Regions from separate parts of the Homo sapiens genome. Here region 1 is linked to region 2. Evidence: promoter capture Hi-C in 16 types of primary human blood cells and fetal thymus (Javierre and others, 2016). All regions are on one chromosome and are shown on one strand. Each heading gives the region's core, a stretch centred on a gene start or on the middle of the fragment in contact. The rest is flanking DNA. Distances are from core to core; before and after follow the strand shown.

What was found. Contacts are between HindIII fragments. The CHiCAGO score rates a contact against its expected background, and 5 or more counts as called.
Region 1: a fragment that was not itself captured here is called in contact with the fragment with the promoter of CNKSR3 in region 2 in 1 of 17 cell types (erythroblasts); the score reaches 5.0 in erythroblasts.

What each region holds. Positions count from the first base shown.
Region 1 is chr6:154,786,099-154,792,045 of GRCh38, reverse strand. SCAF8 (SR-related CTD associated factor 8) reads right to left here. Exons shown (of 20, transcript NM_014892.5): 4 at 4,024-4,185. Among named protein-coding and RNA genes, the nearest start is that of SCAF8, 56 kb to the right of the region's middle. The HindIII fragment of the contact is 1,551 bases long and covers 3,447-4,997 here.
Region 2 is chr6:154,506,551-154,512,532 of GRCh38, reverse strand. CNKSR3 (CNKSR family member 3) reads left to right here and starts at 1,848. Exons shown (of 13, transcript NM_173515.4): 1 at 1,848-2,470. The coding sequence starts at 2,419. It overlaps LOC101928868 (a long non-coding RNA gene), which reads right to left and starts at 1,742. Exons shown (of 2, transcript XR_001744422.2): 1 at 1,571-1,742. The HindIII fragment of the contact is 4,325 bases long and covers 1-3,255 here.

The DNA.
Region 1 (5,947 bases), core at 2,973-5,472, 280 kb before region 2:
TTGAATCCTTTACCATTTTGTAAATTAAAAAAAATAATAAAAAATAAAAAACCTGCTTGCCACTGGCAAGCAGACTTTTGACATCTGTGAACCATCTCATTTACTCTTCTTGATATGCCCCTGAACTGCAGCACTGCATCCAATTTTATATTCCTCATAAAGAGTCTCAACATTGCCCATCCCAACCCACACTCTAATCATCTTACCACCAAATAAATCACATTTTTGTTTTAGTCTCAACCTCTTTCTGGATTACTCAAATAGTCAGAGTTCTTTGTATTTTTTGTAAGGTTCCAGTCAGTCATATGGCAGCTGCTATAAAATTCATGAAATATTTACGATCTATATAACGTTGCTGCTGATCCTGGTCTCAGGCCAACTATGTCAACACATTTTTTAAAAAAACAAAAAAACTTTAGCATCCTCATTTATAAAATAAGACAGTATACCAGAAGGATTCTCGGGTCTCTTTTCTGAACCTCCAAACTGTATCAGACTGTTTAAGCCAGCTAGTATTTTAAATGTCTAGCCATTCTCAAATTTTGAGCATCTTGGGAGGGAGATATATGCCTTGTTACAGCTCTTCTTATAGCGATACTATAACGTACTTCTATTTAATTACTTATACCCTAATCTCAGTCATTTCATATGAAAATCTATTTAGTTGGGAAATTCTATTTAACTATTGCCTGTCTCTTGTTATATTCTGTGTATTATAAACTTGAAAAGACTAGTTATTAGTGACTTCTATTTCTTGGGTAATTCTGAAATCTAGTAACATAATTAGCAGTATTTAGAGAAAACTTGGTAACTAGAAAAATTCCTACTTATATGTCTTCCTTGGTTGTATTAAAGTTTTACAGATCCTGAAAGCTTCAAACTTAATAGGCAGAAAAATATGCCCAATGAAGAATAATGTCTCAAGATGTCCTACAGTATTTTGTAAGAAGTATCAGCAGTTCCATCTATTATACCTTGCTTCTTGAAATAAACATTTCACCCAGAGAACACTTATGTCAGAGTAACAATATCCTGAATTCATATTATCACTAATAAAAGCAGAGTGATTATGTAATAACTATTTTCTTGGTACTATCACCAAACAATCTGATTCACAACTGTTTAACACATAACTATTCTGCAAACAAGTACTAAGTCCTAGTTACTACTATCGTGATGCCACTTATTCCATTAGGAAAAAAAAAGACAGAGGCTAAAATCAAGTACGAAAAAAGAGGCCAGGTGCAGTGGCTCACGCCTGTAATCCCAGCACTTAGGGAGGCCAAGGCGGACAGATCACAAGGTCAGGAGATCGAGACCATCTTGGCTAACATGGTGAAACCCAGTCTCTACTAAAAATACAAAACATTAGCCAGGCGTGGTGGTGGGCGCCTGTAGTCCCAGCTACTTGGGAGGCTGAGGCAAGAGAATGGCGTGAACCCAGGAGGCGGAGCTTGCAGTGAGCCGAGATTACACCACTGCACTCCAGCCTGGGCAACAGAGCGAGACTCCGTCTCAAAAAAAAAAAAAAAAAAAAAAAAAAAAAAAAAAAAAAATTCTGTTAAATGTATATGTTTTACAAAGTAAAATAGCAATTTTCAGAATAAAGATCTGGTTCAACTTTAAATCCCTCATAATATTACACTGACATATTTTTAAACTATGTCCAAACTACATTAATGTGCAAATTTGTGTATTTCAAATGAAGCACAAGAAAATTAGAGACTGCTTCATACTTTCTGATTTGACTATTTCTCCACTCTAAAACATGAGCACTTGGAAAATGCCTTATGTTCTTCTGCTTTATATAAAAATCTTTCCGTTTCCAAGCCACCCATCATATACTTTAAAACTGGCCAGCACCTAACAACTATCATTCCATATATCTACATACGATGTCCTTCATTTATGATTGAGATTACAATGTTAATCTACTCTCTCCTCCTATGGTTAAAAGAAAGCCCTATTCCATAAGCCCTAGTATGAGATATTATATTATGAAATCTACACATTCAAGAAAGATTTAATCACCAGAACTGACAGAAATCCAAGTCCAAACTAGTGAAATTTCTAAATCACAGTAAAGTGACTTCTAAAAAATGCATGTATAAAATTTCAGATTAGTACATTACTTCAAGTGGTAGTCTAAGGTACCTATTTTAAAAATCAATTATGACAGGTCATTTAAAAGAAGCATTCTAGGCCAGGCGCGGTGGCTCACGCCTGTAATCCCAGCACTTTGGGAGGCCAAGGCAGGCGGATCACGAGGTCAGGAGATCGAGACCATCCTGGCTAACACGGTGAAACCCTGTCTCCAATAAAAATACAACAAATTAGCTGGGCAGGGTGGCATAAGCCTGTAGTCCCAGCTACTCAGGAGGCTGAGGCAGGAGAATGGCGTGAACCTGGGAGGCAGAGTTTGCAGAGAGCCAAGGTCGCACCACTGCACTCCAGCCTGGGTGAAAGAGCAAGACTCCGTCTCAAAAAAAAAAAAAAAAAAATTAGAAGCATTCTTTTGCCTGCACAGAATTATTAAAGTACTAAGGTAATTAAAAACAAAAATCAAAAACTTTCTGTCTCAAGGAGTATATTCAAGAATAGTTCACAAAGAATACAGCATAATAAATTTATCTCTGGCCGGGCACAGTGGCTCACACTTGTAATTCCAACATTTTGGGAGGCCATGGTGGGCGGATCACAAGGTCAGGAATTTGAGACCAGCCTACCCAACATGGCAAAACTCCATCTCTACTAAAAATACAAAAAAAAATTAGCCGAGTGTGGTGGCGGGCGCCTGTAATCCCAGCTACTCAGGAGGCTGAGGCAGGAGAATCACTTGAACCCGGGAGGCAGAGGTAGCAGTGAGCCAAGATCATGCCATTGCACTCCAGCCTGGGCGACAAGAGCAAGACTCCATCTCAAAAAAATAAATAAATTTATCGCCATAGCTATCCATTATAACAAGATTTTTTTCTGATTCAAGACTATATAATAGTTATGAAAAATAACTACTTAATCTTGTTATACTCAATATAAAGGTGAATAATTTGTGGTGAGCTTTCAAGTTTTGTGGTTCTTCCATAAAACAAACATGAATCTTCATCTATTCTCATCTTTTCATACTTAAATCAACACTGCAATCAACCCTGTCAGAAAAAGCACACCTAAATTTCCAACATCCAAAATAAATAAGCTAACCTCTCAGAGCAAATAAAAGGATAAGCAACTCCTTTTTATGCTCGCTCATGATCCAAAGCTTTTTTACTTGCTATTTATAGAATATTTACACATTTGGATCTTACACATACCAGACTTAGTAGTGTGATTAATAAAATTCTACCATAATAGAAGAATTTTAATATGCAGTTAAATATCAACTCATGTCAAATAATCACAATTCTGAATTGACTGTGTGTGTGAATAAGTTTCATGTAATTCCAAAAGCTTATTTTAGCCATTTTATTTAACACCAATTGCTTCAACAAATTAAAAAGTAGCAAATCTGCTACATCTTTCTATACTCTCTGTTTGAGAAATTCAAAGAACAAAATGCAATATGGATACCGTAATAATTAAATATTCAAATTTGAAATAACTAAGAGCAAATGAGAATATACAGTCCTGTGCCACTTAACGACAAGGATATGTTCTGAGAAATGGCGTCATTAGGAGATTTCATCATTGTGTGATGTGTACTTACACAAACCTAGACGGTATAGCCTACTACACACCTAGACTATATGGCATATTCCATTGCTCCTAGACTACAAACATGTACAGCATGTCACTGTACTGCATACTGTAGGCAATTTTAACACAGTGGTATTTCTGTACATAAATGAGAAATGGTAAAATAAAAATATGGTATTACAATCTTAGGAGACCACCACTGTATATGCGGTCTGTCATTGAAACATCATTATGTGGCACATGACTGTACTAAGATAATCTGAAGACTAATTAAGACCAAGAGGCTACTGTATCTACTTTTAAAAAAACAAAAAAAAAAAACCAGTAGCATACCTTGTCATCCCCAGGGCAACGATATAAATTCTGGAAAGTGCTAATGATGTTATTACTAAATCTGGGTGCAAACACATCCTTTTCTTGACCAAACTGATGTCGGGATTGTCGCACAATGGAGTCAATAACATAAAGTCCAGGTACTTTGTATTCTGGTTTACACTGATGAAAAAAAGAAGAATGAAAAGGAAAGGAAACGGAAAGGTAAAATTCTTGATAGACAAAAATCATCAAAAATCCTGTGTAAATACAAAGACATTGCCTATGCTATGGTAATGAATATTCATACATTGACTACTCCAATATCATCAGTTTCTGGAATGGCATTTTAAAGAATCTACTTTGGCTACTCTATACAATCAGAAGTTCTAAAATAGTACTATGTAACTGGCTTCAATGACATAAAACAAAGTGATAAATAAGGTACCATTATAATTTTTAAAATTTGTTTAACCACTGTGAAAAGCTACATGGAAGAAAGAAGCAAATTCAGGAAAGAAGGGCTCTAGCAAACACACTGCCAACATGCCTCAGACTTCATCTGGAACACACAACAAAAGGGTTCCTACGCAAATGAAAAGAACAATGCCAAATGGCAAATTATAACATTGTTAAATACAGAGGCCAGAGTTTCCATTTTTTTTCTCAAATATAACATCTATAATCCTGGGGATCTATCCTATGTCATCCAGCCTGGAGTGCAGTGGTGCCATCATGGCTCACTACAACCCCGACCTCTCAGGCTCAAATGATCTTCCATCTCAGCCTTCCAAATAGCTGTGACCACAGGTGCACAGCACCATGCCCAGCTAATTCCTGTATGTTTTTTTGGAAGAGACTTGGTTTCACCATGTTGCCCAGGCTAGTCTCAAACTCCTGGGCTCAAGCAATCCTCCTGCCTAGATCTCCCAAAGTGCTGGAAATACAGGCACGAGCCACCGTGCCCTGCCTCCCCTACTTTCTCAACACAAGCTTTTTTAGCCTATGTAGTTAGGGAAGCACAATGAAGAATCCTTTTACTTGCAAGCTTACTGCACAGTATCTTTAGATACACATACATTAACATTTTGTGGGACAGAATTTCCTTCACTGGTACATTAGCATTTTTGCTACATAAAATGGCAAAAAAAGTTCTTTAGTATGATTTAATGTTTTAAATAATTTTAATACTTGGAAAACTTGGCTAAGTCATCAACTAGAAACCTGAGAGAAGAATCAAGACAAAGAAATCTGAAATACTTTAAAATTTTCCTCTTTACGTACCATTAGACTCAAAACAAGAATTCCTAAGACTCTCTAATTGAAACCGCCTTTGCAAAAATTGTAACTGAGGAAGTTATGACAGTGAAAGCGAGCAGACCTAACCAACTCCATCTTGCTTCTAACCTTCAAGCTGTCCTTGTCATTCCTGGGCCTGGGCCGAACTAACCTTGGGAGGGAATTTAGTTTACGGTTTGACTCAGAAACAAAATATTTAATAATAGCCCTTTCCCAAAAAGACCCTCTTCTTGCCTGGGTACCAGTCTGCCTTTGTAAGACTAACAAATTAGCTACAAGATTAGAAATTACAGTTTAGGGTCACGCAGCCTCTGGCTGCAAGAGTCTGAACCTCCCCAAATTGCTCCTGAGTATAACATCACTATCTTAAAAGATCAGTGCTTGAGATATTTTGCAGACCTTTCACTGGATGGATCAGCTGATGTCACCCAGGCTGGTAATCTGGCTCAACCAGTTCTGCGATCCCACCCAAGAAGAGAAGACAGCAAGAAAACCTCACTTGGACCTCCCTATGATTCCATCTCCAACCTGACCAACAGCACTCCCCACTTCCCGAGCCCCTACCCACCAAATTATCTTTAAAAACTCTGATCCAACCCCGAATGCTCTTGGAGACTGATTTGAGTAATAATAAAACTCCAGTCTC
Region 2 (5,982 bases), core at 599-3,098:
CCCTAATCATAATCAGAAATCACACAACAGGCAGTGATTGCTGAAACAAAAGGTGTGCATCAGGTTGGTTACCCTTTCCAGTGAACCAGTGTCAAGGTCCTTCTCTCTGCTGACTGCTGTAAAGATGGTTAATGCTGGATGTCATTAAGTTTAAAGGTCTTTTTTTTTTTTTAAGGACAACTACTATATCAGGAATTTTGTCATTGCCTTTGCCAACTTGTGTGGTCTGCCAGTCACTTTCGCTAGATGAAGAAAAAGAATCACTATATTTGATAGTTGTGTGTCTCTGTGTTGCCCAGTCCTCTAGGGGAGTTGAATGGGAGGTGGGTCTGATGTTTTGCTTTTTAAAAATGTTTCTTTTGCTTGGATGCTCCAGCTCATCAGATGCTAGGCTGGCTGCTAGCTATTTTTCCACATGTGCGTCCAAACAGACCTGTGTAAGTAGCACATATCACACGAATTCAACAAATACTGAATGAATACAGTGGCTGGCACATAGGAAGCATTCCCGGATATTTACTGAATGAATAAATACCAACCTTGCCTTTGGTCCCGTGCTGGGTGCTACAAGTTAGGTGGTAGGAAGAAAGGGAGGAGAGAAAACTCTATATGAGATCAAGTAGGTTCTGCCCTCAAGGGGTTAATAGTCTCCAAGAGGAAGATGTAAATAAATAACCGTAATTGAAAGTAAGAATCATTCAGTGCCAAAAAGAGTGGGAGGAAGAGGTTGCTGGGCGGGGCGGGGCGGGGGTGGGGGGTTGGGGGGGGTGTTGGGGGGTGAGGGGAGGGGTGGTGGCGAGGGTGGCAGGGGTTGGGGGGGCGGTTAGGATGCAGGGAGAACTTGAAGGAGAGGCAGGCATTCAAATTAGATTTTCCCCCAGTTTAGCATTAACTCTGGCCCCAGTTGCAGTCCATGAATGTGGAAGGGCCCTCCCCTGCCAGGCGCTGAAATTGTGCACGAGCTATTTTTTTTTTCTTGGCTAACAGCTTTCCTCTCACGGTTAATGACTAATCCCAAGGAGCATTAGCTCACTCTGTAAATATGAAATTATAATATAGCAAAATATAACGCTAAAAGCCATCAATCTAATTTTAGTCGCAAAGTTGAAATTTCATAGCAATAGCATTAAAAGAGTTACATTGTTACGATTTCAGTCAACATATAAATGAAATAAAATTGTTCTGGCCTGGCGCGGTGGCTCAGGCCTGTAATCCTAGCACTTCGGGAGGCCGAGGCTGGCGGATCACCTGAGTTCAGGATTTCGAGACCAGTCTGGCCAACATGGTGAAACCCTGTCTCTACTAAAAATACAAAAATTAGCCGGGCGTAGTGGCAGACGCCTGTAATCCCAGCTACTCCGGAGGCTGAGGCGGGAGAATCGCTGGAACCTGGGAGGCAGAGGCTGCAGTGAGCTGAGATCGCGCCACTGCACTCCAGCCTGGGCGACAGAGCGAGGCTCCATCTAAAAAAAAAAATTGTTCTACTTTAAGAAACCTAAAATGACGGCTTAATGGCAGAGTAGTATTACGATATAAAGCATTTAAAATGAACAGAACATGCAGATCTTACTTTTTTTTTTCTTTTCTTTTTTTTTTAGTGTATTGTTGCTCACAGCGAGACAGAGTGTTCTGCTACCCACAGGGCCAGGGCCTCACACAAACCAGCGGGCTCTCCAGGGTGCGCGCGCGATCTACAACCCGCCCCTTGAAAAGGAAAGCGGGGCCCGGGACGCTGCGGGTGTGAGCCGGACCGGCTTAGAGAGGGAAAGTAACCCGAGTCCGCCGCTTCGGGCGGACCCGCCCCCTCCCACGAGTTTCCCTAGACCCTCGGCCCCGCCCTCTCTTTTATTCGGTTTGCAGCAACCGGAGCTGAAACTTTGCAACCCGAGCGCGCACGCTCTGCGCTCGGCCCTGCCAGGGCGGCACGGGAGGGCGGCGCAGGAGGTGGGACCTGCGCCGGGAAGGCTCCGGGACGCCAGCGCACGCGGAGCGGGGACCCCGGAGAGCCAGCAGGCGAGAAGACCGGCCGAGGGAGAGCCGATCGCGCCTCGAGAGATCCGAGGAAGTGGTCGCGGGCCGGGAGGCTCCCGTGCCGAGCCGAGGCCAGGGGTCTGGGGTCGCAGCCCGGCGTGCCTGCAGCTGCCGTCGCTCGGGAGCAGCAGCTGTGCCCGGGATCCCGGCGGCGGCGGGGGAAGGAGGAGCTGCAGCTGGACTGTGGCAGCTGGAGGGAGAGGGCCGGGCTCCCCTGGCGGAGCCGCGCTGGGACGACTGGCTGACCGCGGCCATGCAGTCTTGACGGAGTCGCTCGGGCGCAGGGGAGCAGCCGCGGGCGCGCCCTCCCGGGAAGGGGCACCGGAGCGCAGGCAGCAGCACTTTATCTGCGACTCTCCAGCCCAGCGAGAGGCGAAGCGGTTTACCATGGAACCCGTGACCAAGTGGAGCCCCAAACAAGTGGTGGACTGGACTAGAGGTGCGCGGGCCTTGGGGGGGTCCGGAGTCCTCCAGCCTCGGGGATGGGGCGGACGAGGAGCTGGGGAAGAGGGTACTTGGCCCTTCCTCCCGGCGAGAAGCGGTGAGGGCACAGCCCGGTGACAATGCAAACTTCTGCCGAGTGGCCTGTGCGCTCCTATCTCTCGTACCTGCTCCGAGCTCTTCCTTTCCAGGGTGCGGATTGTGGCAAGCCGAGGGGAGCCCTATCTTTAAACCAGGGAGTAGGGGTGGCCTTTCTGTGGCGGTTGAGGGCTGGGGATGCCGATCTCGGGACTCGGCACTCGGGCCGGGGGGCGCTCTCCCTGCCTGGCCCCGGTGCGGTGCCCGGCGACCCGGGGGCCCGAGTGCAGAGGCACAAGGTGCCTTTGTGTGGGTGACTCCCGCGGGACCTCGTCCATGCCGCCTGCCCAGAGCCGTCCGCAGGCGTGACAGGGCTGTCGGACAGGTAGAGGGAGACTCCGGCGGGTCCGCCGAGCCTGTCTGTTTTTGTTGGAGAAGGCGAGAGGGCCGCGCAAAAGCCAACACCATAGCATTTGCGCCAGGGAGAAACCTCGAGCCAGGACTCCCCGGGAGGCAGTGACTTTTGCTCCGGGAGGCGCCAGTATCCCCGGTGGCGCTGCATTTTCAGGCCACATGTAAGCACTGGGAAGGAGAAATATAATTGTTTGGAACCACTGTCTTGATTCATACAATATTTGGGATGAGGAAGGCAGTGGGGCTGGGGCGGTGGGGGGGTGGTGGGGGGAATGAGCAGAGGTAGAAGCTTGTCCTCCTAGCTGGCTCGCTTACTTTTCAATGTCTCCTACGATTTCGAGGGAAAGGTACTAGAGTTTACTCAACCCTTTTCTGTACTTTCAAGAGAACAAAGTCCACCAAGAACAATCTGTATTTTCATGGTTTCCCCCCACCCCCAACGACATCTCTGTTTCAAGTTACTATTTGTTTTTCTATCTGCTCTTCCAGGTGAGGAATGGTGTTCTTTCTCAGTAATAACTAGAATTGTGTAGCGCTTTACAGTTTGCTAAGAGCTCTCTCTGTTATTGTCCTTGGTCATCACAGTAAGCCTGTGAGGTAGGTAATACTGGTAAGACCAGGTCGTCTTTCAAACCGTCCCACCCATGGCTGCAGCATAATGAAAACTGATCACCGCTACATCTCATTTCTCACGCCTGTGACTTACACATAGACCACGTGGAATAGGATGTCCGAGGTGTGTGGGGTGTGTCAGTGGGTATGTCTGACCATTTCCTGCTCCTCTGGGAGAACTCCTTGAGAACGGGTTTGTCAAGTGAGCAGAATTTCCTGGACTCCTATATAAAATGAAGCTAAAAACAACACATGTTTCTGCCTTGGTGACTAGGTTTCCCTTGGTAAAGAGTAAGTGGCATTGCCAGTACTTGGTAGGAAGCATGAGCTTAAAAGCCATCCATGCCCACGCTAGCTTGAAATGAGGTGTGTTCCTCCATTCAAGATGCTGCCAAATTCCCTAGGCTGGCAGCTTCCTGAAACTGAGTTGATATGTATTTTATCTGTATGTCCCTCATAGAGCCAACTTGAGACACTGCAAATTTCAGCTACTGTTGACTTCTAGAGCCGCTCTGTCCAACTTAGTAACCAGTACCACTTGTGGCTCTGCAGCCCTTGAAATGTGGCTGGTTAGAATTGCAATGTGCTGTAAGTCTAAAATACACATGGCATTTGAAGACTTGGTATGAAAAAAAAGAACATGAAATATCTTAATACTTTTTATTACATGTGGAAATGATAGTATTTTGATACGTTAGGTTAAATAAAATATATTACTAAAATAAGCTTCACCTGTTTATTTTTACCTTCTTACATATGTCTCCTAGAAAATCTAAAATAACACAGGGCTCACATTTGTGGCTTCCATTATATTTCTATTGGACAGTTCTGCTGTAGCAGAAAGAAAGGGTTACATCTTATCACCCTGGCTTTTCTGAGCCTCTGCCAGCTTAGTTGATAATGTACAATCAGAAAAATGGTAACAGGCGCACAGGAAGATTATGGAGTGAGATCTTCACACCCTCAAGATTTGTGTCTGGTTTTGTTGTTGTTGTTGTTGTTGTTTTTGTCCCTCTTGGGATTGGAAAAGGAGAAGCGTAAAATCACATCCTGTTATGTTTGTTGAGTATTTAAAAGGGAAAGTAGATTAAAACGTTTTTGTTAGCCAGTTGCCTTGACGTTATCAGTTAGTTGAGTTACTTTCATCTAGGAAAAGTTTTCTCCTGACCTGAAAGAACATCTATGGCTGGCTCAATACCTACGATACTTACTAGGTTACATACCTGTGGTTGGCACTTGACTACGTTATACAAAATGCCTGTGCCCTTTTGGACCCTGAAATACAGCTTAGTAGAAAGACCTGGATACGTTCTGTGTTCGAATCTAAAAAAGATGGCTAAGATGATAAGAGGCTGCAATCTTCCAAGTTGCGTGACCCATTACTTGAATATTTCTCATAATAATGATGCTCAAGTATTGACTTTTTAATGAACTATCGACTTACAAAAGCTCGTCTGCTTATAGGACTATTTTTAGTGCTCTTTGCTAATCTCTTTACCCAACCTTTATTTTATAAATACATGCTACTGATAAGCAGCTCTTCATGTAGACTTTGCTACTCTTGGTATTGCATGAATCTGGGTAGGGCGATTATGAGAACCATAGAAGGCCTTAGATTTAAAACTGTCTAAACCTGGCCACAGTCGACAGCTGGATCTCACCTCCTTGTTATTTGACAGATGTGTGCCTTAGGAAAGAAGTTCTTGTCTACAGAATGAATTAACCTGTCTGGCTTTTATTATTAATGTTTAGCTACACTGTCACCAATTTTACCGTAATGTTAGTGGATCCTCAGTAATTATTAAGCAGTGTGTCAGGCACATGTCTAAGCATTGTACAAATATCAGCTCATTTAATAGGCACCACCACCTTTGAGGTAGGAACAGTTATTTCCATTTTGCAGTTGAGGAAACCGAGTCACACACAGATTGACCGATGTCACCCAGCAGAGCAGGTGGTTTGGCTTCACTCCACTCCATTTTCTCAGGAGTTTCTTCCCAAGGCCACATCTAGACCACACCGACAATCTTTACATTTATGAATAGAACTTCAGGATTCGGTCTGAATAGCATATGGTAGCGGAGGAGTCTCATCCAGTATATGTCTGTGTTATTCTCTATCTTTAGTTCATGTCAGAAAGTTATTTGTAAGTCAAATTAATTCCTAGTTCATGGCGCCTTGCCAGTCAGTTCAGTAAAGGCCTTTGCAAAGCAAATGATCTTTTACAACGTGTAGGGTTAGCCGCACATAACAGAAAACCCAGTGGGTTAACCAAATTGGGGTTCCATGGCGCTGCCATCTTGTTCAGCCATTCGTAGCACATGGCGTAGGGTATGGCCTGGCACATGGTGTTCATTTTCATACTTAATGCTTCAGTGCAAGGTGGCGGCTCCTGCATGATTGTCT